2 separate regions of the Homo sapiens genome follow, and region 2 is linked to region 1. The links are contacts of gene promoters, found by promoter capture Hi-C in human tissues and cell types (Jung and others, 2019). All regions are on one chromosome and are shown on one strand. Each heading gives the region's core, a stretch centred on a gene start or on the middle of the fragment in contact. The rest is flanking DNA. Distances are from core to core; before and after follow the strand shown.

Region 1 (6,833 bases), core at 3,725-6,224:
ATACTTAGTCTAAGTCTGAGTCTGTTCATGTTTTATCTTTCTGCTGACCCAGCCAGTGAAGACACCTCATCTCCTTTGGCAGCTCCTTTTCTTCTCCTAGCTGAGTGTTAGTGGTGGGTGTAGGAGGTGGAGCTAGAGAGAATGTCAGGCAGAGATTTTAACCTACACAGGTAAGCATTAATGATGTTTGGTCTTCCTCCCCTGGAAAATCCAGATTTCCTCTACACTTTGTTGTCATCTAGTTAAAATGACCTGCATAAAGATGTCTTTGCTGAGGGAGGAATATGTCACATCCCATGTGTGAGTTTCTACCTAGAGACAGTCCATTTACCTACAGCCTCTACATTTCCCTCCCTAACGGCAGCGCACTAGGCAGTGCAGCACATGTCACTCACTCCCAGAGAAAACATTCATGGTGATATTTTTAGTATACACATAAGAATTTGCAGGGGAAGTACAATTAACTTTTGTCTCCTCAGAACTGAAAGGAATGTCTATTTTCTTAGTGAATACAACATAACTTATTGTAGTTAACTTCTCACTGCAGATACTCAGTTTTTAAACTGAGTTAACAGTGGACTCCTTAGTTGGGCAACTCCTGAAATTTGTCAAATCTGGATGCATTCCTTTAAAATGTAAAGAAAATGCAGGATCAAGTTCTGATAGTGGTAAACTTGATAGTTGGGCAGTATTGGGGGGAAAATGTGCCAAGGACTTTGGTCTTGACTCTTCTGAATTAGCTGGGCATTAAATAGGCGGGAAGGTAATTCAAGGAAAATGCCCCTCTTGCAAGAGATTATGGACACTAACTGGGCATCACTGTTTAGAAGAGACGGGAGGTGGCCAGGCATGGTGGCTCACGCCTGTAATCCCAGCACTTTGGGAGGCCAAGGCGGGTGGATCACTTGAGGTCAGGAGTTTGAGACCAGCCTGGCCAACATGGTGAAATCCCGTCTCCACTGGAAAAAAAAAAAGAGGCTCTACTCAGTTTTTCAAGGCAAATGCTGAGCCTTGAAGGAGTGTTGCAAACTAATGTGGTCAGGTGAAAGGATGTGGAAGCCATGCCTCACAAGGTGAAACGGACTGGGTTCAGATTTCCGGAGAACTCTGGTTTTTGGAACAGAGAATCAAGTCTGCTGTTCCCCACAGTGAGGCAAGAGCCTGCAGGCCCATGAGGGCCTTGTGGTAGAATGAGCTGGGAAGACAGCAGGGAGAAGTTCTTTGATGCAGTAAAGGCCCCTCAGGAGTCCAGAGGTGTCAGGGGAGGACGCTGGGTACCCTGAAAGAACACCTGTTCATCTCAGGACAGACTGGGAAGCTTGTCGGGGCCTGGTAAGTGCAAGGCAAGGAGAGCCTGCCCTGGCCACATACACACAGGGCTAGGAGGCTTTAGTGGTCTGTTTTCTTTCAAAGTTTCAGTACAAGGTAGAGATAGTGCTCCCTTGCTGCTGCCTCCACTCCTCACTGTGAATCAGAAGGCCCCAGGTAGGCCTGCTGCCTCTTGGAGACCCCAGACCCACCACTTACTATAGCCCATCAAACTCCAGCTCCCTAGACTGAGCTGAGCTTCACAGCCTGCAGAACCCAGGCTAGCTTGGAGAGGGTTGCATCTCTTCAGCCCAGAGCCTTGAGGACATCAGGGTAAAAGGAGTGGCCACCTATATTTCTAGTGCTTTAGGAGGCCTAGGCAGGAGGATTGCTTGAGGCCAAGAGTTCAAGACCAGTCTGGACAACATAGCAAGACTATTAAGACAAGAACAGAACAAAAAGCAGCTGGGCATGCTGATGCACACCTGTAGTCCCAGCTACTCAGAGGGCTGAGGTGGGAGGATCACTTGAGCCTAGGAGGTGGAGACTACAGTGAGCCATGATTGCATCTCTGCCCAGCTTGGGCAACAAAGCAAGACCCTGTCTGAGAAACAACAAATGGAGTGACCTGAGGTCTCAGGACAAACACCTGCATTCTGCATCTTGAGCCCTGATCCTGGGCCTCCTATGGCTCATAAACCCCTGAAAGAGGGTATACATGACTGGCACACTCAGACATGAGAGACAACCAGGGGTGCTCATCCCTTCCCAGCCTGCAGACGAGTCTGCCTCCCAGTGGACCTGGCCCACAGGGGTTGGGTGTATAGGCTGGCACTTCACCAGCCTCTGGTCACCTAGGACCTCTAGCAACTAAAATCTCCCATCAGGCCAGGTTCCCAGAGAAAGCCTAAGAAGAGTCCCCACTGACCTCAATGCCTCCAGCCTAATTTGGTTTTATTTTGAAGAAGCAGGGGGACTTCTATGAGCAACTATGCTATGGTACAATCGTTAAGGTCTCTGGGCCAGAACCAGGCTGCTTGGGTTCAAGTTCAACTCTGCCACTTCCCAGTTGGGTAACTGGAAGGAGGACAATTTGCTTGACCTCTATAATTCAGCTCATCTGAAAAATGGATGCTAGGGATTCCTCCTCCTAGAACTGTGGTGTATTAAACGTTTAGAAAACCAAGCATACATCAGTGGTTCAGAGGTGGTGGCCCCTGAGGTGGTGACTCTAGGAGAAGTGAAGGAGTCCCAGAGGGTTCATGTGTGGAGCCAGGTTCACTCACTAGGGAGAGGCCCAAGGCCCCCAGAACCAACAGGGCAGGAGAGGATCCTAGAAGCTGCAAGAGAGACGTGAAATGCCAAAGCCATGATGTTTATGCTGTGAGGGAACCAGGCAACCTACCGGTTTGCATGAGGCCCCCAACCCAGGGCAGCTGTAGCCTATTAGTGCTGGGTTCAGTGGAGGCAGAATTCAGGTGTAAACTCCACCCTTAACCCACCCCACACCCTGGGGATTCATGTTTTCCCGCCCTACTAGAACTTTGGGCTTCGGATCAGCGCCTAGTGGGTAGCTTTGAACTTCCCTGCCAGCCCACTGGCCACATGCTGTGCGAGTTGAGTTGCATTGCCTGTATTTTTCTGGCATTGCCCACTCTGCTCTCCCTCTTCCCCAGGCTCAGCTACACACAGCTCCATGCCCTCCGGGCTGACTCAGTCCTGCATTGTTCCCACACACATACGCATACCCACAACCTGGGCTGTTCTTTCTAACTTCAGTGGGGTTGAATCTGGTTTCCCCAACTAAGCCTGGGGACACTCCAGCACTGAGGGTAGATACTTAGGGAAATTGAGAGAAAACCCATGAGCTGTCTTCTAGAGGCAGGGGCATAGCTTTGCTGACCTTGTCAGGACCCAATCCCAAATATGTGAAGGATCACTAAGCTCTGCCCTTGCTGGGTGAGCGTCTCCAGACTCCTGACTCACCCCTGGGGCATGCATTTCTGGCCCAGGAGTCAACTCCCCAATAACTCAGTCCCTCCCTCCAGAAAGCCTGCCTTGACCTCCCTGAAGTGAAGCTCCTACTGCATGCCCCTCATCAGGACCAAGAGAGAAATTCTGCCTCTGCCTAGCTCCACCTGTTCACTCCCACCAACCAGACAACTCCTGATCGATAGGAATCTTGACTCCACTACACCAAATCCCCTCTAGTTCCCTGCAGATGCTAAATTGTCTCCACCTCCTGGCCTTTGCAGGCTTTCTGTCTGGAAAGCCCTTTCACTCCCTCATTGCTCTAGTTAATGTTCAAGTTCAAGCCTCAGCTCTGAGCAGCCCTGTGGGCCCACCAGACAGCTCTTCAAACCACTCCTTCCTGCCAGGTCCAGTGTTGCCAGGTGCCCACAGCTGCTCACAGAGCTCAGGCTCTGCCCTGGGACTCCCCAGCTGATGAGCTGCAGGCCAGAGAAGCAAGAGGGGAACAGCCGAGGCCTTCAGGGAGACTGAGTGCCTCCCCACCACCTGTCCCCTCCCTTCTCACCCAACCTCCAGCCCTTTCTGCAGCTTGACTGCTGGAGCTAAGGCCCCAGCAAGGCCCCATAGGGCCAGCATCACTACCTCAGTCACGCTGGCCACACCCTCTGTCAAGCTTTGGCTTGGCAGTGGGCCTAGCAATGTCCCATGCAGCTCTCTCTGCCAGGCTTCTTCCAGCCCGTGGAGGGGTCCCTTCTCCCCACCTCCCCTTCCCCTGGCTCCTGATGCTGATGCCTAAGTGATTTGTCCCGCTCTGAGCCTCAGAGTCCTTATCCAACCAATGGGCACACAGCCCCTCCCTAACTAACTCCTGGGCCGGTGCTAGGATCCACTGTGAGTCAGATGAGGAAGTGGGCTGGGGAGGAAGAGGCAGAAGGCAGCCCTCAGCGGGCTAGCTGGTCAGAAGCATGTAAGCTGCTCTGGCCTGGCCTTAACCTGGGGCCTCTGGGAGCTGGGCCAGCTGTCTGTGCACCCATGCAGGTACAGGATGTCTGCAGCAGCTGCCAGGGGCTTCCAGATGCCCCAGGTTTGGCCCCTGAGACATTTTCTCCCTAGCTCTGGGATAGCCTTATCCTGAGGCCCTACGTATTCTGGCAGAGAGTGGGGGTGGGGGAGGAGGCCCTTGCAATCTTACAGGACAGACCATCAGGCTGTTTCACAGCACCTGCCTAATACCCTGGTCTCTCCTCCATTTCTCCTCTGGCACCTAGAACCAAGTCACCCTGAGCCAGCGCCAGAGTTCCTGCCCACTCGTGAGTAGGACAACATACCCAGGAGATACTGCTGCAGCTGGACATGGACTTGTATGTAAACACAAGCGCACATATGTGGGGAGGGGTGTGGAATATCAGGATGGGGGCAACATGAGAGTGACCCAGGATGGGCAGTAGTGAGCTTGGGGTAGGAGGAGGGGATGTCCACAGAGGCCTCTCCTCTACAATGGTGGCCCAGTCACCATCCAGACCTTGCCAGGTCTAGTGCCCCGTGGTCCCCACCCTGCTGCCTGCTCAGCCTGGCAGCCTTCCTTTACAGCCTCCTGCCAACAGAGCCAGCCCCCTGCCCCCACGGGTGTCCATGCCAGAGCAGCATTCCGCAAGCCTGGCTGCATCTCCCCAGCAGAGGCTGAGCAAGGGGGCCACTCAGCAGTGGTCAGGTCACACGGCTAGAGGGGCACAGTGGGGCCTGGGCCTCTGGTCCCTACTCCTCTGGTCCCTCTGTCTCCTGGCCCTGGGCCAGTCACCTTAGATGATTTGATCGCTGCGGTTGTAGTCCTGGGATTTAAATCTCCTGCCCTGGGTGGCCCTATGCAGCATGAGGCCGCCAGGTAGGTATGGGTCCACTGGAGCCAAGTCCTGGAGGCACAGAGCAAAATGAGCCCTGCGCCGCCCTGGGATAGGGATGGGGGACTGGACCAGTTGGGGACCCCAGACTCACCCCCAGGTCAGAGCAGCCCAGGCGAGAGGGTGGGGGTGGTGAGCGCGGCTGGGGTGCGGGGTTCAGTCCCTCAGCGTGGGATCCCTCAGGGGAGCGGGTGGAAGCCTTTTCTGTTCGGATCCGGGGCCCGGCGCGCTCAGCTTCCTGATTTCACGGCAGCTTCCTATCCTGGCTCCCCCTCCGTGGCGCAACCGGAGGGCAGCGATGTTTGACTCCCGGACGAACTTCCCGGCAGAAAGGAGGCTCAGCACGGGAGGGTGGGGCCGGGGTCTATCTGCTCGGATATGAGCAGTGGGGACGGGCTGGGGGCTGGAGCTGGGGCTGGGGGTGGAGGGCAGCCTGCGGCAGGGCGGGCTGCACGGGGACCGCGCACACCACGCGTGTCCGCGCCCCCCGCCGGCACGCAGGCGGCCTGGCCCTTTAAGCGTCCAGACGGCGGCCCCAGCTGACGCGCGGGCTCCAATCGGCGCCCCGCGCCCCCCGCCCGCCGCGCCCGAGGCTCTGGGGCCGCAGCTGCTTGGCGCTGGACTCGCCGCGGCCCTGCGCCTCCGCCTGCCTGGCCGCGCCCCCGGGGGCCATGGTCGCGGGGCCCTGCGCGGGGGCGGCCCCCAGCGCGGCGCTTCATGGAGCGGCCCTGGCCTGGCCGCCGGGGGCAGCGCGATCCCGCGGGGCCCTGTGAGCCCCCAGCGCCACGGCACCATGGTACGCAGGGCCCTGCCTGTCCCCCCGCTTATCCGCCCACCTGCCAGCTCTGACCTCCCAGGCACACGGCCCGCGGGCCCGGGTGGAGGGGCTGGAGGGATCTTCCCCCCTCCCCCGGTCTCCCGGCTCCATCTGCTGGGTCCCGCGGGCCGGGAATGCGGCGCTGTGGCGCTGCTCTCGGTGGGGAGGGGGTTAAATTCCTGTGGTGGGGGCGCCGGCGCGCGAGGCTGAGGTCTTGCTAGGCACCGGCGAAGGGGGGCGCTCCCCTGCGCCCGGACGGCGCCGCCCTCGGGCTGGGTAATGGGGGGAAGAGGGAGTCGGATTCCCGCCTGGGCCTTGGGCCACGTGGGCGCTGGAGCCGCCCTGCCTGGGGATTCGGGATGACCCGGGCCAAGGGGGTGTGGGAGGACACCCAGAGCTCCCGTACCAACTCCTGTGTGACCTTGGGCAGATCCCCCGCCCTCTCTGGGTCTATTTCCAAGGGAAAGAGGGGAGGTAAGTGCACAGAGGAGGCTGGCATGGACACTCCCTCACCAAAAGGAGGAGCCTAGAGGTCATGAGCCTGTGCCCCCTTGCTCAGTCTGGGCCCCCCCACTGCTGCCCAGCATAGAAAGAATTGACATGGGAGGGGGGCGCAGATGGACTCCCCAGGTTTCATCATGGGGCCTTCCAGGGAGGCTCTGAGGCAGGGTAGAGAGATGAGGCTTCTCATCAGTGAGGCAAGGTACCCCTCAGGTGTAGAAGGCTCTGACTTGGGTGAGCAGCCTGGAGAGATGTCTGGCACCTGGCCAATCCCCAGCCTGACTTGGGGCAAGGGTTTGAGGGCATGAAACCCCCTGGCAACCAGAGTGCCTGACCAC
Region 2 (6,367 bases), core at 3,242-5,741, 39 kb before region 1:
TTGTATTTTTAGTAGAGACGGGGTTTCTCCATGTTGGTCAGGCTGGTCTCGAACTCCCGACCTCAGGTGATCCGCGCCCCCCACCGCCTCCCAAAGTGCTGGGATTATAGGCGTGAGCTACCACGCCTAGCCTACATTGACTAGAATTTCTGAAAGAGCATTAAACAGTAGTGATGCTAACAACTACTTTTGACTTGTTTCCTGCTTCACTGGAATTAATGCTACAGGAGTGTTTCACCATTAACGATAATGCTGATTGTTGATTTGAAAAATATCTGAGAATATGTGTGTCATATAAAGGAATGAATGTTGAATTTCTTTTTTTTAATTTATATTTTTCTTTTTTAAAATTTATTTTGTTGTTTCTGTAGTAGATATGAATGTTGAATTTCACCGTGCACTTTTGGTTTCTATCGTGGGATTTTTTTTTTCTATCATGGGATTTTTATAGGATTTTTCCTTCACTTCAATAAACTATATTAGTAGATTTCCTAATGTTGAATAGTGTCTCTTTTAAAATGAGATTGGCATATGGGGTTTTAAATTTGTTTTATATCATCTCTCCCAGGCTTTGGTTTCGATTTTATTTTGTTTCAAAAAAATTAAGCTTTTCATCTTTTGCTGTGCTCTAGAACAGTTGATATAGTGTTACACTTTAATGTTACTTGAAGATTAGAAGTAATTCATCTATATCTAAAGAATTAATAGCAGCACTCTTTTGGATAGTTAGCAGCATTTTAGTTTCTTTATTGGGCCTGTTTTTTATCTGTATACTATCTTATAATTCTTTTTTCTAAATTTTGGTATTCTTCCTTTTATCTTCCTAAGTGATTAATTTATCTTTAGTTTTATTCATTAATGAAAATATTTATGACTATATGCAGTGATCAGGATAAATAAGTGGTATTTAACACTTTTTGCATTGTCAGACCTGGCAGCTCTAACATCTGACCTCATTTCCTGACATCCTGGCCCTTTGATTCTCTGATCTGCACTAATATCCTCATCATAACTACATGAGCCAGTAAATATGTTCTCTTTTGAGTTTTTGCTTGTACTATCTGCAGGAAACCTTTAGCTGGGTGTTTATGGACATGTCATGGAAAAAGCTTCATGTGGCTAAATAATTAAGTTGTTTCGGCCTTATATTTTATGTTTTTCTGGCTATTTCCTTTGTTTTATATCTTTTACTAGGTTGCTGCCCCTCCCACCAAAGAAGCTTGAAAGATGTAAAATATTGTTAGTTCTACTTGTGAATACCTGTTTAAGTATGCTTAAACCCTTGGCTGGGCATGGTGGCCTGTAATCCCAGCACTCTGGGAGGTCGAGGCGGGCAAATCACAAGGTTAGGAGTTCAAGACAAGCCTGGCCAACATGGTGAAACCCCATCTCTACTAAAAATACAAAAAATTAGCTGGGCATAGTGGTAGGTGTCTATAATCCTAGCTACTCGGGAGGCTGAGGCAGGAGAATTGCTTGAACCCAGGAGGCGGAGATTGCAGTGAGCCAAGATCGTGCCACTGCACTCCAGCCTGGGTGACAGAGTGAGACTCTGTCTCAAAAAAAAAAAAAAAAATGTATGCCTAAACCCTTATTTCCTCTCTGCTTCAGAAAAGTCTACCTATTGATTCCCACTATGAAGTATGAGGATGCGTATTTTCTTTCACCAGTCCAAATCCTTGTTGGTTTTTATTGATTCTCCACTGCCTTCCTCCAACTGAAATTATTTTTACCCTGGGCAACATAGTGAGACCTTGTCTCAACAAAAAATACAAAAATTAGCCAAGCATGGTGGCATGCTCCTATGTTCCCATCTATTCAGGAGGCTGAGGCAGGAGGATTGCTTGAGCCCAAGAGGTTGAGGATGCAGTGAGCAGAGGTTGTGCCGTTGCACTACAACCTGGGGAACAGAGCGAGACTCTGTCTCTTAAAAAATAAAATACATTATTTTTATATCACAGGCATGAGAAAAGTTCATGATATGTTAGTAGAGCAAGGTGCAGTACAGTGTGCATAATCTACCATTTTTTAAAGGAAGAAAAATAAGAATTTATCAATATTTGCTTGTGTATGAAAAGAAACTGGAAAAATACACAGAAAATTAATGAAAGTGAGTACCTGTTGATAGGGTTGGGAAACAAGGCTTCTCATCCTGTACCTTTTTCCACTGATTTTTGAGTCATGAGAACATTTCCTATTCAAAAGAAAGAACATTTTCAGATGGTACATAAAAAAAATTTTGCCATTACATAACTTTGTTTCCTAATACTGATAACATTTAAAACCATAATTAACACTGTTTGCATTGTCATACCTGGCAGCTCTAACATCCGGCCTCATTTCCTTTTATTTTAAAACCATAATTATAGTGATTTAGGTTTAATTTTGTAATGTAATATATTCAGTGCCCAATGCCACTCTTCCTACTAGTTCTCATTCATTAATTTTTTGACTTATATCTCAGGGATATGTATTCAAATAGATATTTCAGGATAAAATGTATTTCCTTTGCTAGGTATAGAATTCTTGTTTCACAGCCTATTCCTTAAAAATGGTAGACTGTGCTCAGTTGTCTCCAGTTTGTAATATAAGGTGTCTGAAGCTGGTCTTCTTTCTTTTTTCTTTGTGAACGATATGATTCTACTGCCTGGATACTAGGAGGCTTTTTTTTCCATTTATGTCTCCAAAACTAAATAGCTTTATTAATTGATATCTTGGTGTTGCTCCACTTACATATTTTTTCCTGGTATGTAGTGAATAATTTTAATCTGTATATTTGGGTGTTCCTTCATTTATGAAAGTATTTTGTAAATCTGTCTTTGAATAATTTTGTTTTGAGTATTATTATTATTAAATATTTATTGAGCACCTAACTGTACCAGGCACTACGTAAGTCTCTGGGGATATAGTGGTAAGTAAAGCAGTCATGGTCCCTATCTCTCTGCGGTCACACACAACAGTCAGACCTAGGTTATATATAAGTGCCCTTAGTTCATACTAATGATAGCTCATATTGTGTAGCAGCTGCATTTCCATGTGTCATTCCTAGCCAAGATGTGAGCTTCTTGAAACTTAGGCACTACGTTCTTCTTGAAACTCAGGCACAACAGTATATAGTACTGTTGGATTCCCTGACATATGGGTAAGATCTCAGTAAATAATATTTGAGTAAATGGCCCGATGTTATGCTGCTCCTGTTTCTTAATCTTCTTCCTAGATTTTGCTCTTGGCCTACCTAGTGTGATCTGTTCTTAACCTTTGCTCTTTTCCTCACCCCTTGCTTGTAATTAATTGTTCTATGGGCTATTCTTTGCCTTCTGTAGTTTATCAACCTCTGCAACATTTTTCTAATTGATGCTCACTTTTCCAACTACCATATCATCTATGTACATAATACATGTCTCCTTTTTAAACCATTGAATCTGCAATTCCAGCGCAACTATTTCTGAAAACAAGGAACAGTATTGAAAGATGATGTTTGATTTTATTCCATCTGTGTACTTGGTGATTTTATTCCTTTCACCTAGTGGCCAAATCAGAATCTACACCATGACATAGACTTTTCCTGTCTGTAGTCAAAGCTTAACATGTGTTGATATTACCTGATTAATCTTAATATTGTTCCCCTGTCTTATTTTTAAGGATCTGCATGTTGGTATTTTCGGATTAAATTTAGAAACTAGTCCTGCTTTGTGTCATTTTTGTCCTTAGCCATGTATAAAAGCAACATACTAATGTTTACACTAACAGTAGATTTTAGTCTTATTATAGAGCTGTGTATCTATTGGCATAACATTAATTCTGTGGACGAAAACTATGTATAAGAATATTATCAATAGTATTGACTGATTCTTGAACTCCTGGTTTCAAGTGATCCTCCAGCCTCTGCCTCCCAAAGCACTGGTATTACAGTGCCCAGCCGGTATCAACTGATTCTAAAAGATTACTAAATTCCACTAAATTATAAATAGTATTTGTTGAGTAACAAATTTTTCTTAGATATTATTTATTTAGTCAGCAGCAGTTTCCAAAGAGGCATCATCAGCAGGTGTTCTTAACTCTTTACAGAGATGGGGTTACTGTCACACTTATTTTTCTCATCAGTTTGGGAGCCAGAGAGACTTACGCAAATTCATTCCAAGTCTGTCCTTTATTGTAACTACAGCTTAATTTTTTTATCTTCAATATGTTTTGTAATCATAGTTTATGCTTGCCATCACCGAAAATATTTACTAACTAAACTAGTGAACCACATTGACTTTTTTTTTTTTTTAAAGACCATACCTTTAGAATATTGTCTATTTTGAGTTTCAGAATAGAAGTATCATCACATGGTAGCCTGTTTTCTATAAAATCATACAATTCAATAAAAAATATTTGTTGAAAACCTGTTAATCTTGCTAATGAGCTTCAGTTCAAGTTAGTATTTGCTGATCTGTATCCTGTAGTGTTCAATCTCAGGATTTAATTTGAAGGGAATTAATACTAGGTTACCTCTTTATAGGTATAAATCATAATGCTGTTTTGTTTTTTTGACCTTGGTTTTTGTTTTTAAACCCTTCAAATTGCATATATACTAGCATTTTAACTTAAGAAAGTCTCAACTAATGTCTGAATATCCATAGTTCAGCCTTTGCCATGCTTTGCAAACCTAATTAGGTTAATGTGTTTTTTTCAGGATTTTAAAATTATTTTTCTTATGTGCCAGGTTTAATCTTGCACCTTGTTATTGAGGCAAAAACAATTCAGTTTTGTTGTATTTTTCCTCTTGCTCTTAACAACATAATGCCATAGAGGAGATAAAACCTCTACTCTATCCTTTGTGCCATGAGGTTCGGAGGGCAAAAGACTTTTTTTTTTGCTCCAGGCTAGAAGAGGGTAAGATATTAGAGGTGAGATTTGTTTTTTCTTTTTTTTTTTTTTAAGATGGAATCTTACTGTGTCGCGCAGGCTGGAGTGCAGTGATGCAACCTCAGCTCACTGCAACCTCCACCTCCCAGGTTCAAGCGATTCTTTTGCCTCAGCCTCCCGAGTAGCTAGGATTACAGGCGCCTGCCACCACACCTGGCTAATTTTTGTATTTTTAGTAGAGATGGGGTTTCATCATGTTGGCCAGGCTGATCTTGAACTCCTGACCTCAGGTGATCTGCCTGCCTTGGCCTCCCAAAGTGCTGGGATTACAGGCGTGAGCCACCATGCCTGGCCGAGATTTTTTTTTTTTTTTTTAAACCACTCTAGTTAGCTATCCCTCTCCGAATATTGGATAGGAATGTAATCACATTTTAACTGTTTTCAAGTGTGTGTTGTACTACTGGAGGGTACACAATTTCCAATTATCTGTTAAGGAGAAACTAAAAACATTTGAAACTTTGAACAGCTTTCATTTTGAGGCATTACAAGATTTTGAAAAAAACAAAACAAAAAACACCCTAATGTTGAAGTTACTGTGGCCCTAAGAAAAGCCCTATGTTTTGATTATTTCGATTATGTCTTCTATCCTGAAAAGTAGCCATCTTACAGGGATTGCAAAGATCTAAGTCTGTTCTGGTATGCAAAGCGGGATGATTTTGAACTTGACACCAGCTAAGCCATTTCCCAGAGATTTATGAGGACTGATCAAAATACATTTATTATACTGGTAAAATGTTTCTATATAAATACAGTGATAGTTACTATTACTGATATTATAGGGTTTTTTTTTAATTCTGAAATGACTTTAGATACACTGCTCCCTGCTTGAAAATCTTGAGTCCTCCTTTTTGCTTGCTTTCCGTCTTTTTCTTCATTCCCTTAGGTTTTAAGAACAGCTACAAAGTTTTGAAATTGCTTTATAGTTTGGCTCTTTTAAAGCTATAGGCTAAGAATGTTGACACAGGAAGGTCTTCCATCCTGCTTTACCCATTAACGATGTCTATAATGCAGTATCATTGTTTCCTCCTCACAGGAACTGACCGATATGGCCAGGAATACAATACAGTCTTAGTGATACAGAGTCATTTTGTGTCTGTTCTGAACATGATTTATGCTTGGTCCACAGTTAATTTTTATTTATTCTGTAAGTCCTTTTGAATAAATAAAAAGGTTTACAATGGAAAAGATCTTGTAGAATAAAGGGGAAAGGAACTGAAGAGTAATTAATTGCAAATCAGAATTACGTTTCTTATTTTATTGATACGCTTTCAACAGGTCCATAAAGTCACAATTATTTTTATAGTAATAGATTATGATTTGCCTTTTGTGCTCTCATTCTCTTGTGAATATACAGTCAGGTTTTCCAGAGATCATATATTAATATGTGATGATATCACTGCCCTGACACCTAATGGAATGTGTGCTTGTGTATTCTTGTGTTTTAAACATTTCTGAG

Evidence for each region. The method cuts DNA at HindIII sites, captures the fragments that hold promoters and counts their contacts. A contact is called where the count stands out against the background at its distance.
Region 2: a fragment that was not itself captured here is called in contact with the fragment with the promoter of ZBTB47 in region 1 in 2 of the 25 tissues and cell types used here (H1 embryonic stem cells and neural progenitor cells).

Annotation. Positions count from the first base shown.
Region 1 is chr3:42,648,723-42,655,555 of GRCh38, forward strand. ZBTB47 (zinc finger and BTB domain containing 47) reads left to right here and starts at 4,975. Exons shown (of 6, transcript NM_145166.4): 1 at 4,975-5,161. It overlaps ZBTB47-AS1 (ZBTB47 and NKTR antisense RNA 1), which reads right to left and starts at 5,666. Exons shown (of 3, transcript NR_125400.1): 1 at 5,272-5,666. It overlaps NKTR (natural killer cell triggering receptor), which reads left to right. Exons shown (of 17, transcript NM_005385.4): 17 at 1-13. RefSeq lists an enhancer at 4,949-5,590 and silencers at 5,596-5,955, 5,996-6,075. The HindIII fragment of the contact is 7,927 bases long and covers 2,636-6,833 here.
Region 2 is chr3:42,610,174-42,616,540 of GRCh38, forward strand. All of the region lies in intron 2 of NKTR (natural killer cell triggering receptor), which reads left to right. It overlaps ZBTB47-AS1 (ZBTB47 and NKTR antisense RNA 1), which reads right to left. Exons shown (of 3, transcript NR_125400.1): 3 at 2,137-2,194. Among named protein-coding and RNA genes, the nearest start is that of NKTR, 13 kb to the left of the region's middle. The HindIII fragment of the contact is 7,266 bases long and covers 859-6,367 here.